Regions from separate parts of the Homo sapiens genome. Here region 1 is linked to region 2. Evidence: promoter capture Hi-C in human tissues and cell types (Jung and others, 2019). All regions are on one chromosome and are shown on one strand. Each heading gives the region's core, a stretch centred on a gene start or on the middle of the fragment in contact. The rest is flanking DNA. Distances are from core to core; before and after follow the strand shown. Region 1 overlaps CRLF3 (cytokine receptor like factor 3). Region 2 holds the start of CPD (carboxypeptidase D).

The links. Contacts are between HindIII fragments. The study calls those that stand out against the background at their distance.
Region 1: a contact is called between a fragment that was not itself captured here and the fragment with the promoter of CPD in region 2, in 1 of the 25 tissues and cell types used here (dorsolateral prefrontal cortex).

The regions. Positions count from the first base shown.
Region 1 is chr17:30,786,560-30,793,426 of GRCh38, forward strand. CRLF3 (cytokine receptor like factor 3) reads right to left here. Exons shown (of 8, transcript NM_015986.4): 6 at 5,881-6,013. It also overlaps the pseudogene SUZ12P1. Among named protein-coding and RNA genes, the nearest start is that of CRLF3, 35 kb to the right of the region's middle. The HindIII fragment of the contact is 4,601 bases long and covers 1-3,904 here.
Region 2 is chr17:30,374,921-30,381,725 of GRCh38, forward strand. CPD (carboxypeptidase D) reads left to right here and starts at 4,007. Exons shown (of 21, transcript NM_001304.5): 1 at 4,007-4,806. The coding sequence starts at 4,061. RefSeq lists enhancers at 1,733-2,022, 2,273-2,322, 3,593-3,762, 3,908-4,835 and silencers at 3,813-4,052, 4,353-4,482. The HindIII fragment of the contact is 4,583 bases long and covers 1,022-5,604 here.

The sequences.
Region 1 (6,867 bases), core at 354-2,853, 410 kb after region 2:
CCATTTTATAAGTGAGGAAAATGAGGCACGAAAAGAAAAAAAGATTAAAAATAGCTAAATAACCTGATCCCGACTACCTGGCTGATGACTGGTGGAACCAGGACTCAAACACAGGCATTCTGACTCTAGAATCAATCAATCTATCTATCTATTTTTTTGAAATGGAGTTTCATCCTTGTTGCCCAGGCTGGAGTGCAATGGCGCGATCTCAGCTCACTGCAACCTCTGCCTCCCTGGTTCAAGCGATTCTCCTGCCTCAGCCTCCTGAGTAGCTGGGATTACAGGGATGCACCACCATGCCCGGCTAGTTTTGTATTTTTAGTAGAGACGGGGTTTCACCATGTTGGTCAGGCTGGTCTCGAACTCCTGACCTCAGGTGATCCGCCTGCCTCGGCTTCCCAAAGTGCTGGGATTAGAGGCGTGAGCCACCACACCTGGCCTAATTTTGTATTTGTAGTAGAGACACGGTTTCACCATGTTGCTCAGGCTGGTCTTGGAACTCCTGACCTCAGGTGATCCACCCTCCTTGGCCTCCCAAAGTGCTGGGATTACGGAGTGAGCCACCGTGCCCGGCCTAGAATCTATATTCTTAACCATTTGTAGCCATGATGGCACACTTCTATTTTATATTCTAGCTCTAGACACATAGAAGGTTTGTCATAGTTGACATTATAATTTATGTAACTATTGCTGCCAGCGCCTAAATCTTCCATATAAGAATTTGCAATGATTTGATTACTATTTGTTAAGTAAATAAAGCATTTAAAAAGAACTATTATAATCCTAAAAAATCCCATTATGGTTATGAAGACACTATTCAAGCATGAAGAACTTCCTATGTGGCAAGTTTAAGCTTTTCCTTTTGTGTTTTCATTTCAGATGTCAGTACTTTGTGTGCTCTTGAAATAGGAAATGTACAGATCCCTATTGCCAGACACATCATTCTCTCCATCCAGAAAGCCAACTTTGCAAGGACAAAAAAAAAAATTAGTGTGAAACAAAATGTGGCTTTTCCAAAGACAGATGTGATTATTTATAGTCAATGTGGCCTCAAAATGTCATTGATTGTGAAATAGCAAACATGCAGGATCATAATATTTGGGTAGGTTTCTGAAGTTATTTCATATCTGAGCAGTCTAAAGAAGTATGGGGAGGAGGGGCCGGGCATAGTGGCTCACACCTGTAATCCCAGCACTTTGGGAGGCCAAGGAGGGTGGATCACCTGAGGTCAGGAGTTCCAAGACCACCCTAGGCAACATGGTGAAACCCCGTATCTACAAAAAATACAAAAATTAGCTGGGTGTGGTAGTGGCTCCTGTAATCCTAGCTACTCAGGAGGCTGAGGTGAGAGGGTCACTTGAACCTGTGAGATGGCGATTGCAGTGAGCTGAGATCATGCCACTGCACTTCAACCTGGGCGACAGAGCGAGACCTTGTCTTAAACAAAAAGAGGGGGAGAGCTGGGGAGGGGAATGAGAAAGAAAATAGGCCGGGTGCAGTGGCTCACGCCTGTAATCCCAGCACTTTGGGAGGCCGAGGTGGGCGGATCACAAAGTCAGGAGATTGAGACCATCCTGGCTAACACGGTGAAACCCCGTCTCTACTAAAAATACAATAAATTAGCCGGGCGTGGTAGCAGGCGCCTGTAGTCCCAGCTACTCAGGAGGCTGAGGTGAGAGGGTCGCTTGAACCTGAGAGGTGGAGGTTGCAGTGAGCCGATTGTGCCATTGCATTCCAGCCTGGGCAACAGAATGAGACTTTGTCTCAAAAAAAAAAAAAGAAAAGAAAAGAAAAGAAAGAAGGAAACCTTAAAAAAAATCAGAAAATCTTAGAAGCAAGGAAAGAGCAGGAATGTTCACATAGGAAGTGAGGGAGACCTGGAAGGAGGGGGTTGCTAGCAGACCTGGGCATCTAATGAGAGTGGGTCTAGAGACTGTTAAAATCCAGCCAGTATCACAGGTTTCTCTGGCTTCAGCAGCTCCAAGCCTTCCAGAAGCTTCAGCAGGGACTGACTGGGATAAATAACAAAGTAGTGCCTTCTTTTTTTTTTTTTTTTTTTTTTTTTTGAGACAGCATCTCACTCTGTTGCCCCGGCTAGAGTACAGTGGCGTGATCTCGGCTCACTGCAACCTCCGCCTCCTGGGTTCAAGCGATTCTCCTGCCTCAGCCTCCTGAGTAGCTGGGATTACAGGCACACACCACCACGCCCGGCTAATTTTTGTATTTATAGTAGAGATGGGGTTTCACCATATTGGCCAGGCTGGTCTCGAACTCCTGACCTCGTGATCTGCCCACCTCAGCCTCCCAAAGTGCTGGGATTACAGGCGTGAGCCACCGTGCCCGGCTAACGTAGTGCCTTCAAGAGTATAGTCTCCCTTCTAACTACTAGGCCCTTAAGTACCCTCAAAAAACTAAATATTGTTTCTCTTGATTCAAGTAGGCGCACTTGCTCCTCCCTTATGCCCTTATGCATGGAGTCCCCCTTGCATTCACATCTCTGGCTTCACTGCTGATGCCTGAAATTCCTTTAAACAAGGGGAGAAAACATTTCATTCCACAAAGAAAAAAATGACAAAAATGCAAAAGGCTGGCTACCATTATATTGAGTTTAACTGAATTTCAGTTAATCACCCTGCCAAGTGGGGCCTGGTGATGCATCTTTAGGAGATGCAAGAGAGACTCAACAGTTTATTGAGACCTAATGTGTCTTTCACATCACGGTCAGCAGAGGTGAATTTAAATCAATTTGTATAATTTCCAATGTCTTAATAAATATTTACTGAATGGTCTAAGAAATAAACCTAACTATGCAATCTATCAGACATTACCATGTGTCCAAGGAGGAAGAATTTAAAAAGCAGGAGAGCATCAGATCAAGTGGTGAAAGGTCATAAGAGGTAAAAGTTAAAGAGCTAAGGACACAGTAATAGAGAAACTGTAGACTTCAACACTAACTAGAATCATGTTAACTCTCCCATGAAAAAGAAGCAATACAGACCAGTCTGGAGTCGAACTGCCTGGATTTAAACCCTAGTTTTGGCATTTACTAGCTGTGTGACACTGGGTAAATAACTTCTCTATGCCTCAGTTTCCTCATCCCTAAAATAAATAACCCATCTATCTCACTGGGTTACCATGAAAATCAAATGAGTTAATACAAGTAAAATACTTAAGACAGTACATGGCACATAGTAAATACTGTTTAAATATTAACTGCAATTATTATTATTATCATCATTATTGCAGTCTGAGATATCTGGCCTGAATTTATCAAGTTAGGAAGCTCTGTCATTGCACAGAAATACCTTGTTCTCAGGAGAGTCACTAACCGAAGTGCTTCTGTAAACAAGGGACATAAGCAGAGAAGGGGTATGTAAGTACAGAAAACTCATGATTACCTGGGGAATAGTTAAATAGATTTTAGGTATTAGTTGTTTTTTTTTTTCCTCTCTCTCTCTTTGTTGGTATTTTTCTGTTTACTGAGTCATTCTTCATTAAGGGGTGAGGTGTCAAAAATTAGACAAAACAAACTAGTATAATCTGACAACCGCTGACAATTCAAATTACTTAGCTGGAGAGGAATACAGCAACACTGGCTTAGATAAAATATTCAGATATTCTCCATGCCTTAAATAATAAGGGCCTGAGAACAAAAGGAACTTGGGTCAAGCATTCACAATAAAATCCCATCTCAAGACTTAAAACTTAGAGGAGAGCTTGTTACACTAAGGTGAGTATGGTGAAAATCAGGCAAACTTTACTTCTCTAAGTCAAAACTGGTCTTTAGTTTCTACGAAGAGCTATTCAGAAACATGACTATAAAGAATACATCTCAGATAACATGAAAACAAGAAAAAAGAAACTTTTCCATTACAGAAAGAAATGGGTAGAGAAACAACATTAATTAGTGGTAGGGGAGGCTTGCTTTCAGTTTTACTTTAGAGAGTAGCATATACATAATATGTTTACAGTGTTGTCTCTTACAAAGACTTGCTGTTAATGATTCACAAAGGACAAAACAAATTCTTGGCCAGTAAATTTTTTTGCTTTTTTTTTTTTTTTTTTTTTTTTTTTCCAGACGGAATCTTGCACTGTCTCCCAGGCTGGAGTGCAGTGGCACGATCTCTGCTCACTGCAACCTCCGCCTCCAGGCTTCCAGTGATTCTCCTGCTTCAGCCTCCCGAGTAGCTGGGACTACAGGCGCACCTCACCACACCCAGCTAATTTTTAGTATTTTTAGTAGAGACGAGGTTTCACTATGTTGGCCAGGATGGTCTCGATCTCCTGACCTCGTGATCTGCCCACCTCGGCCTCCCAAAGTGCTGGGATAATATGCATGAGCCACAGTGCCCGGCCTATGCTTTTTTTCTTTTTTTTGAGACGGAGTCTCGCTCAGTCACCCAGGCTGGAGTACAGTGGCGCGATCTCAGCTCACTGTAACCTCTGCCTCCCAGGCTCAAGCAATTCTCATGCCTCAGCCTCCTGAGTGGCTGGGATTATAGGTGTGTGCCACCACACCCTGCTAATTTTTTTTTTCTTTTTGAGACGGGTCTTGCCCTGTTGCCAGGCTGAAGTGCAATGGCTCACTGCAACATTTGCCTCCCGGGTTCAAGTGATTCTCCTGCCTCACTCTCCCTAGTTGCTGGGATTACAGGTGTGCACTACCACATCCAGCTAATTTTTGTATTTTTAGTAAAGATGGGGTTTCACCATGTTGGCCAGGGTGGTGTCTTGATCTCCTAACCTTGTGATCCACCCACCTCAGCCTCCCGAAGTGCTGGGATTACAGGCGGGAGCCATTGCGCCTGTCCTAATATTTGTATTTTTAGTAAAGATGGGGTTTTACCAGGTTGACCAGGCTGGTCTCGAACTCCTGACCACAAGTGATCCAACCGCCTCGGCCTCCCAAAGTGCTGGGATTACAAGTGTGAGCCACTGCGTCCAGTCTCTTGGCCTCTAAAATTTTTTTTTTTTTTGAAACGGAGTCTTGCTGTGTCGCCCAGGCTGGAGTGCAGTGGCGTGATCTCGGCTCACTGCAAGCTCCGCCTCCCGGGTTCACGCCATTCTCCTGCCTCAGCCTCCCGAGTAGCTGGGACCACAGACACCCACCACCATGTCCGGCTAATTTTTTTATTTATAGTAGAGATGGGGTTTCACCATGTTAGCCAGGATGTTCTCAATCTCCTGACCTCGTGATCCGCCCGCCTCAGCCTCCCAAAGTGCTGGGATTACAAGTGTGAGCCACCGTGCCTGGCCAGGCCTCTAAATTTTTAAGATTTACTTTTTAATTTTGTGTGTGTGTTTGAGACACAGTTTCGCTCTTGTTGCCCAGGCTGGAGTGCAATGGCATGATCTCAGCTCACTGCAACCTCTGCCTCTTGGGTTCAAGCAATTCTCCTGCCTCAGCCTCCCAAGTAGCTGGGATTGCAGGCATATGTGCCACCATGCCCGGCTGATTTTGTATTTTTAGTAGAGATGGGGTTTCTCCATGTTGCTCAGGTTGGTCTCGAACTCCCGACCTCAGGTGATCCACCTGCCTCGGCCTACCAAAGTGCTGGGGTTACAGGTGTGAACCACTATGCCCAGCCTAAGATTGACTTTTGAGAGATACTCTACTTACCTCTACTTACCAAGAGGAAAAGAGATATAAACATATTAAATAACAAGCATTTTATATACATTTCCCAGTTAATCTACGTAATAACCCTGTGAATACAGATGAGAAAACTACAGCTACAGGAAATAAAGAAGCCTTCCCACAGTAACACTGCCTATAAATGACGGAATAAACTCAGGATGTTTTGAATTCAAAGCTTATGTATGCTCTATGCACTTCACTCTGCTTCCTGAGGCAGGTGAGATGTTTTAATATCTACTTGCCTGAATGTTAATGTCTGCCCACAGAAATAAGTCGGAGCTCTGGAGTAGAGAACACCCGATGATTCAGAATCGTTCCGAAGTGCTATATTTCTTCGACTGCTCAGACTGTACCCCTCAAAACCAGCTGTCCACTCTTTTTCAAAGCAAAGATATTGAAAACTGTTAGAATCTCTTGAGGGATATCTTCAATACAGACACGTTAAATAAAACATGGAAATGGGAGACTACTCTTAGGGGCCATGGTCAAGTTCAATAAAATAAAAGATTCCATTAACAGGGTATCATGATCAGTCCCACAAATTACAAAAGATTTTAGTATATTCCTGCATAATTTTGACATAATAAATCACACAAGTGTTATCTCTTATCTAATAAAATCATTGTACAAGCATAATTGCTTGAACTTATTCCAACCTGATAAAAATCTAATTAATAGGCCAGGCGCGGTGGCTCACGCCTGTAATCCCAGCACTTTGGGAGGCCGAGGCAAGAGGATTGCTTGAGCCCAGGAATTTGAGACCAGCCTGGGCAACATAGCAAGACCCAGTCTCTAGAAAAAAATAAAAAATTAGCCAGGTGTGGTGTGCATGCAGGTGGTCCCAGCTACTTGGGAGACTGAGGCAGAAGGATCTAGAGGTCAGGCTGCATGATTGCACCACCACACACCAGCCTGGGCGACAGAGTGAGACCTTGTCTCAAAAAAACTAACTAAATAACATTCAAATATAAAAAAAAGAATAAAAAGGAATATCAGTGCCCTACATAATATTTTCAATCTTTGGTTTTCAATGAGGCTAAAAATCTTGTCCAGCATTTTTTTTGGACTCTGAAGAACTGATGAAAACAAAAATCACATGAGGTAATCTGAGTAAAAGACATGGTGCATGTTGTTCTTATCAATTCAGGATCTATGCTTAGAATAGCTGGTTGTCAGTGTGCTGCCCTTAGCACAGAATACAGGTATTCTAATATATAGTTAGGCTTCAG
Region 2 (6,805 bases), core at 2,757-5,256:
CTATCCCTTAGCCTTGCCCAAATGGTTCCTGGAATTTTCTTGCTAAAACACAGGTGCGATCCACACCATTCCTCCTCACAAACAGCTCTGTAAGTTTTCCATTTGCTTTGGAATAAAGCAAAACCCCATTAGTGTGGTATTCAAAGCCTTCATCTACTTCTAGTCTTTGCAGGCATGGCTTCTGCTGCTCTTCCTAACACATCTTGTATTCCAGCCACCAGTCACGAAATCCCTCTCTGTGCATCTATCCTTGCTGGTCTCTCTGCCTGGAGTGCTCTTTTCTCCATTTTTACCATTTGAGAATTTCTATTATTAAAAACAATAGAAATAACGGTGATTTCTGAACGCTTGTTATATGCCAAGTATTATATTAAATGTTATGTATGTATTATTTCTTTTAATTTTCAGAGAAATGAAGTAACTTGCCCTGGTTACAATGGCTGAAAAGGGACTGATCCAGGATTTGAACTTGGTTCTGCTGTTGAAGAGCATGATCAAGCAGTATTGGTGACGTTTTCTCTGACTCTTCATTATTTTTATTTTTAATTTCTTTTATTTATTTATTTTGTATTTTTAGTAGAGACGGGGTTTCACCATGTTGACCGGGCTGGTCTTGAACTCCTGACCTCAGGTGACCTGCCCGCCTCGGCCTCCCAAAGTGCTGGGATTACAGGCTTGAGCCACCGAGGGAGGTGACTCTTCATTATAATGGCTTTTGTGTGTTCCAAAAACAGGTTTTTGTTTTTTGTTTTTTTAAGCTTACTATATAGAAACAGTTTTATTACAGAATTTAAGCACACAGACTCTGAAGTCACACTCCCCAGGTTTGAGTCTTGGATCTGTGGCTTGCCAGCTGTGTGACCTCATGTCTCCTCTCTTTATCTTTGAAATGGGAATGATAATAGCACCAGCCTCATAGGACTGTTGTGAAGATGAAATGAGTCAACCAATGTAAAGGGTTTTGCACAGTGCCTGTTATGTAACTCTTGTCCAGCAGACACATCCAGTCCTGTGTTGTGTCTATGTTCTGTGTCCCTTCCTAGATTCTGTCCTCTGGGAGGGGAGAGATCCCCTTCATTCATTTTCCAATCCTCCTGTACCTGGCACAACAGACCTTTCGCCAGATTGGGTGCTCCACAAACATTTGTCAAATTGAATTTGTAAATCTGCAGGTGTTTGTGCTGGACAATGAGACACTTACAAGTTCCCGGTCTATGCTATGCTTTAATTACCTACGAATCTTGTGAAGAAAATGGTTCTTGAATCAGGCTGGTCATCTAAAAGCTTTTGCCCTGTTTTTAAAAAATCCACGTCAATTCTTTGTCATTTCTTGGTGCTAGAAACATTTCAAATCTCTTTGAGCTAAATGAGGTGATGGCTATCCAGAATGTCCTGGTTTGATCATAATATATTGTATGCATGTATCAAAATATCAAATGTATCCCATAAATATGTACAATTATCATGTATCAAATACAAAAATTAAAAAAAAAAATCCAAGTCATTGCCACTCTGCTTCTGTGAACAGGAAGCCTTTTTACCTTCAAGCCTTTCCCAAGTCCCTTCCATTTGTAAGGCCACACCTTTTCCTTGGGGAAAGAGGAAAGAAACACCTGTCATAAGGTTCAAGACTTCTCAGACACAATTGGAGGTATTCAGCTGTAGGTAAACACAAACCTGTAGGTAAACACAAAAGTGACTGAGGTCCAGAGCTTTGGGTTTCACTTATAACCATAAGCAACTGTGTACCTGCTAAGGAAGAAGGCTGCAGACCTGAAAGAGGCCCACGGAAGGCCTGGGGATTTCTGAGAGGACACCGGCTCAAGTTACATTCCCATATTATTTCACCACCCTCATGCTTGTTTATTTACATTTCAGGCTGCCTCTCTAGGCGAGGCTGCAGGAGTGAAGGGGCTGGAAGAGGTTTCAAAGGAGAGTGAACGTGGTAGAAAAGGAAATATTTGATTAGAAGTTAACATGTCCTCTGGGGCTTCTTTGACTTGGATTACTGTAAAAGTGCATGGTGTAATAGTTGAGCACTCCCGGGAGGTGGTGGGCGGTCTCTCTGTACAGAGTTGTGGCTTTGTTTCTGATGAGTTGCAGCTGCTGTGCATAATGTAGACTAGATCAAATGGGGCATGGAGAAGAGCCATTCACAGGACCGGAGTGACGGTGCTCGCTCTGATGGCAGAATACTAAATTAATCATCTTCACCTAAACCTGTGCTTTCTCCTGGCCTGTACCTCAGTGAATACCTGCAAGTTGCTTAGGCTGTAACTTGAAGTCAGCCTACAATCCTCTTTGTCTCCAGATCCTGTCCACTTTCCTTTCCGAAGGTCTTTCAGATCCATTTCCTTCTTTCCACCTCCACTGGCACTGCCCTCATTCAGAGTCTCATCATGTCTTCCTGGATTGCAGCTTCCTTCCAGGTCTCTCAGCCTCAAGTCTTAGGCCTCCCATTCAATTTTCCGTGTTACTGTCAGAGGAATTTTTCTAAACTAGCTTAAAACCCGTCTGTGGTTCTCCATGGCCTTCCAGATCAAATGTGCTCCCTGAAGACTGGCCTGTGAGCCCCTTCACACCAGTAATCCTGACCCTGCATGCAATTCCCAGAACACAAGGCATTTGTTCTCAAATCCTGCGGCTTTCTTTGCTTGCTTCTCCTCCTGCCTGGGATCCTTCCCATCCTCCATGGTTTCTCTCCTCCTTTCCTCCTCCTCAAGTTCAGATATTTCCCTCACCTGTACCCCCTCTGTTGTAGCATTTATCACAAACTACACTGAATCTCTTGACTGGGCAGAAGAATGAATTGTTTCCCAGCATCTAGCTTTGACATAAAAGTTGCTCAATAAATACTTGACGAATGAATGAACTCTATTAAAGTAGGGTTCAGTCATAGTTCAGGGAAGGGGCCCTGAAATAGCTGGCTCTGAAAGAAGGTAATGCCGGTTATTGCGATTATGTTGTTAGATGGGTAGAATTTCGCATTCGATTAAGGGATAGTTTTGGGTTTCTTCAAGCTAAAGAAACTAAAGCCTATAAAAGGTGATTTAAAAGACCTCTTCTCTAGACTTGATGAAACGCTGTAATTGCCATCTTTGGCTGACACTGAGGAGTTCAGGAATGCCAAGCAAGTGTTTCCAGAAATGTCAAACCTGCTGTTTTAAAATATGTCATTCCAGGGCACAGTTAAATATACAACTTGCTCCGATGAGGTGGGAGAAGTGGGCCGGTGAGCTGTGAAATGAAATCTGCCTAATGAGGGTCGAGGCCAGCACACACAGGGACCTATTTGCAGTAAAACAACGTGGGGTGACGCCTAAGAAATAGACAACATTAACACAAAGGGAGCCTACTACGTAGCACATTTCCGCTAGGCATAAAAGAGACACCTTTCCAGAAAGCAACTCTAAAAATGAATGCACCGCCTAGTGAGGTGCGAGCCTTCCTCCCCACGAGGCGTCCCGTGCAACCGCACGCGGACAGCGGGGCTCCAGCGGAGGCGGGGTGGATGCGGAGACAAGGCGCCTAGGAGACTGGGCTAAGGCTTTGAGTGTCCGAACGAAGATTCTTTCGAACCTATTGATTTTTTCTAGTCTTATGATTCTTTCGAACCTTTTGATTCTTTCCATTCTCGGTTCTAAGCATTAAAGCGCAGCTGAGAAAGGCAGCAACAAAGATGGGAAGAGAACTAGCAGGAGTTCTCAGAGAAAAATGGGTGATAATTTAGGGGAGAAGCCATAAAGAAGAGACTAAGCGAGAAGCGGAGCACACGCAGAAGACGAAACAAGGAGGAGGAGAAGAGAAGAAGAACCTTGGCGAAGGAAGAGAGTGACCAAACTCGTCCCGGACGGGAGGAGGGCAGGCCCGCCCAGAGGGAATCGGCTGCTTTAAGGGAAGCCCCGCCCCCTGGTGGTGACGCTCCACCAGGCCCGTCCGCGATTGGCTGCGGCCAGAGGGCGGGATGGGGTTGCTAGGCGAGGAGGGGATCCGGCGGGCCCCCGCCGCCCGGAGCGCTGAGCCGCGGGAGCGGAGCCGGGGTTAGCGGCGCTGCTGGAAGATGGCGAGCGGCCGGGACGAGCGGCCGCCTTGGCGGCTAGGGCGGCTCCTGTTGCTCATGTGCCTGCTGCTGCTGGGGAGCTCGGCCCGGGCGGCTCACATCAAGAAGGCGGAGGCGACTACCACAACTACGAGCGCGGGCGCCGAGGCGGCCGAGGGCCAGTTCGACCGCTACTACCACGAAGAGGAGTTGGAGTCGGCGCTGAGGGAGGCGGCGGCCGCGGGCCTCCCCGGCCTGGCCCGCCTCTTTAGCATCGGCCGCTCGGTGGAAGGCCGGCCGCTGTGGGTGCTTCGCCTCACCGCCGGCCTGGGGTCGCTAATCCCTGAGGGCGACGCGGGGCCTGACGCTGCCGGGCCCGACGCTGCGGGGCCGCTGCTGCCCGGCCGGCCCCAGGTGAAGCTGGTGGGCAACATGCATGGCGACGAGACCGTGTCGCGCCAGGTGTTGATCTACTTGGCCCGCGAGCTGGCGGCCGGCTACCGCCGCGGGGACCCGCGCCTGGTCCGCCTGCTCAACACCACCGACGTGTACCTGCTGCCCAGCCTCAACCCCGATGGCTTCGAGCGTGCCCGCGAGGGCGACTGTGGCTTCGGCGACGGCGGCCCGTCCGGGGCCAGCGGCCGCGACAATAGTCGCGGCCGCGACCTCAACCGAAGCTTTCCCGACCAGTTTAGCACCGGCGAACCCCCCGCCCTGGACGAGGTGCCCGAGGTGCGCGCCCTCATCGAGTGGATCCGCAGGAACAAGTGAGTGTTGCCTGCCCCCTCCCCGTCCGTGTGAGCCTCCAAGGGCCGAGGCTGGTTCCGGCACCCAGTAGGCGCTCAGACAATGCTGGCATAAGGGGTGGCGGTGGTGAAGGTGAAGGGAGACACCCTGTAACGGGGACAGGGCCCAGGCCGCGTAGCCTCCCGTCCTGCTAATCATCAAAGAATTGCCTCCTAGAGGCTGTCATTTGTTCAAGGGATGGCTGGAGGGGACACTCCTTTCTGACATTTCTGGTCCCTATTCTTACAGGGGCATAGAATATGAGCGAGAAGAGATCTTAAGGATAACCTAGGTCAGCTCACACATTTTATAGATAAGCTGTCAATGTTGTTATCTTATATCAAAAGTGCCTAATGTTATAGGCGCTGTGCTAATTTTTTCTGTGACTGCAGTATCTCACTTTATTTTGGCCACAACCTGATGTCATAGACACCATCAGTTTTGCATACGGGGAAATTGAGGGTCAGATTGGTTAACTGATTTACATAGGAGTGTGGCTGGGACTTAGAATTAGGCAATCTGATTCCCGATAGTCCTCTTAGCCACGGAGGGACACTGGAGCCCAAAAATGGCAGATGATATTCCCAGGATCTTCCCCTTGCCTATTTGACAGAAGCTGATTTTTCTCCAATTTTTACCTCTGACTCAGCTTAAGAAGATATGGACTTAGCTGGAGAACTTGCACAGATCTGTGAGCCGCTTCATTTTAGACTCTGAAGGGTTTGTGATGTCATTTGTGCACCTTATTAGCCTGGGCAGAATGGCTAATGGTCACACTTCTAATACACACTTTAAGTGTTATTAAGCATTGCATGAGGTTTAAAAAATTACAAAGTAGAAGAAGGAGGACCTCAAGAAATTAGTATAAAACAAGAGAATGTTATAAATATTTATGAGGTATGTTGGTGTACCCAGTTAAACTTTACAGGAATTGTTCCCACTGGCAAGATGTGTGTGGGCTGCAATAACACGGACCATCTCTGTGGAAGAGGTAGAGCTTGAGCTATCTCCAGAGATGGGCAGGATTTTCAGCAAAAAGGAGAGGAATAAAATAAGAGGGAACTCACTCCAGATGGCATAGTGTCTGAAGTGAGCAGGCATCTCTTCCCCTTTTCTAGCATCAGCTTTTCCCCATTTTTGTATCTTCATAAGGCTTTTGAAGCAATAACTGATCATTCCATCTGGATTAAAAGAAGATTTCTGAGGGACTGCTAAGATAAAGAAGTTTCCCTGCGGGACTTGGAATCATTTCTTCTACAAGATTTCAGTCATATATAGAAGATCTAGAAAATTCTTGAGTGTTAGGACAGTTCCTGAGTCTTTTCGTCTTCTATCTTTTACTTTACTCCTCTTGATAAGCTCTCTTGTAGATATATAATTTCACATAGACTTTCTGGGAGGATTTTTTTTTCTTTTAAATACGATCGTGTCATCACCTCTGAACATCTGCGTAAGAAATATGACTTTGACATACACTTATTGACAGAGCTGTGATGGCCAGGGCTTTTTGGAGATGATACAACAAATGCACCGTTTGCATTGCTTAAATGTTTAAAATGCTCTGTCCTTGCACCTTTAAAATGCTGTGATCCTTGCAGGGATGTAAATTCTGTGCCTGGATTTTTCTTTTCAGTATTAGTTGTGCTGTGACCAAATATGAAAATAAGCTTTTTCTTGGTGCAAGTCGCCTTGAGGCTATACAGAGTCATTTTGGTCTGTGGCTGTGGACTACCCTAATCATATCTGTTCTTCAAATATGTAACTCTCATTAATCAAAAGGGAAAGTAGGTGATCATATATGGTAAAGAGTACATCCATCCTAACTCAGTCTTCAAGAATTCACTCAAAATGCGTACTCTGTGCTATTAACCAATAACAAAGGACACTGATATGTGAATAAAATTAAAAACACAAGCACACACACAATTTGATATTGATGCCTAAATATAGTGTCAACTTTATGGATGGGATATTTTTAAA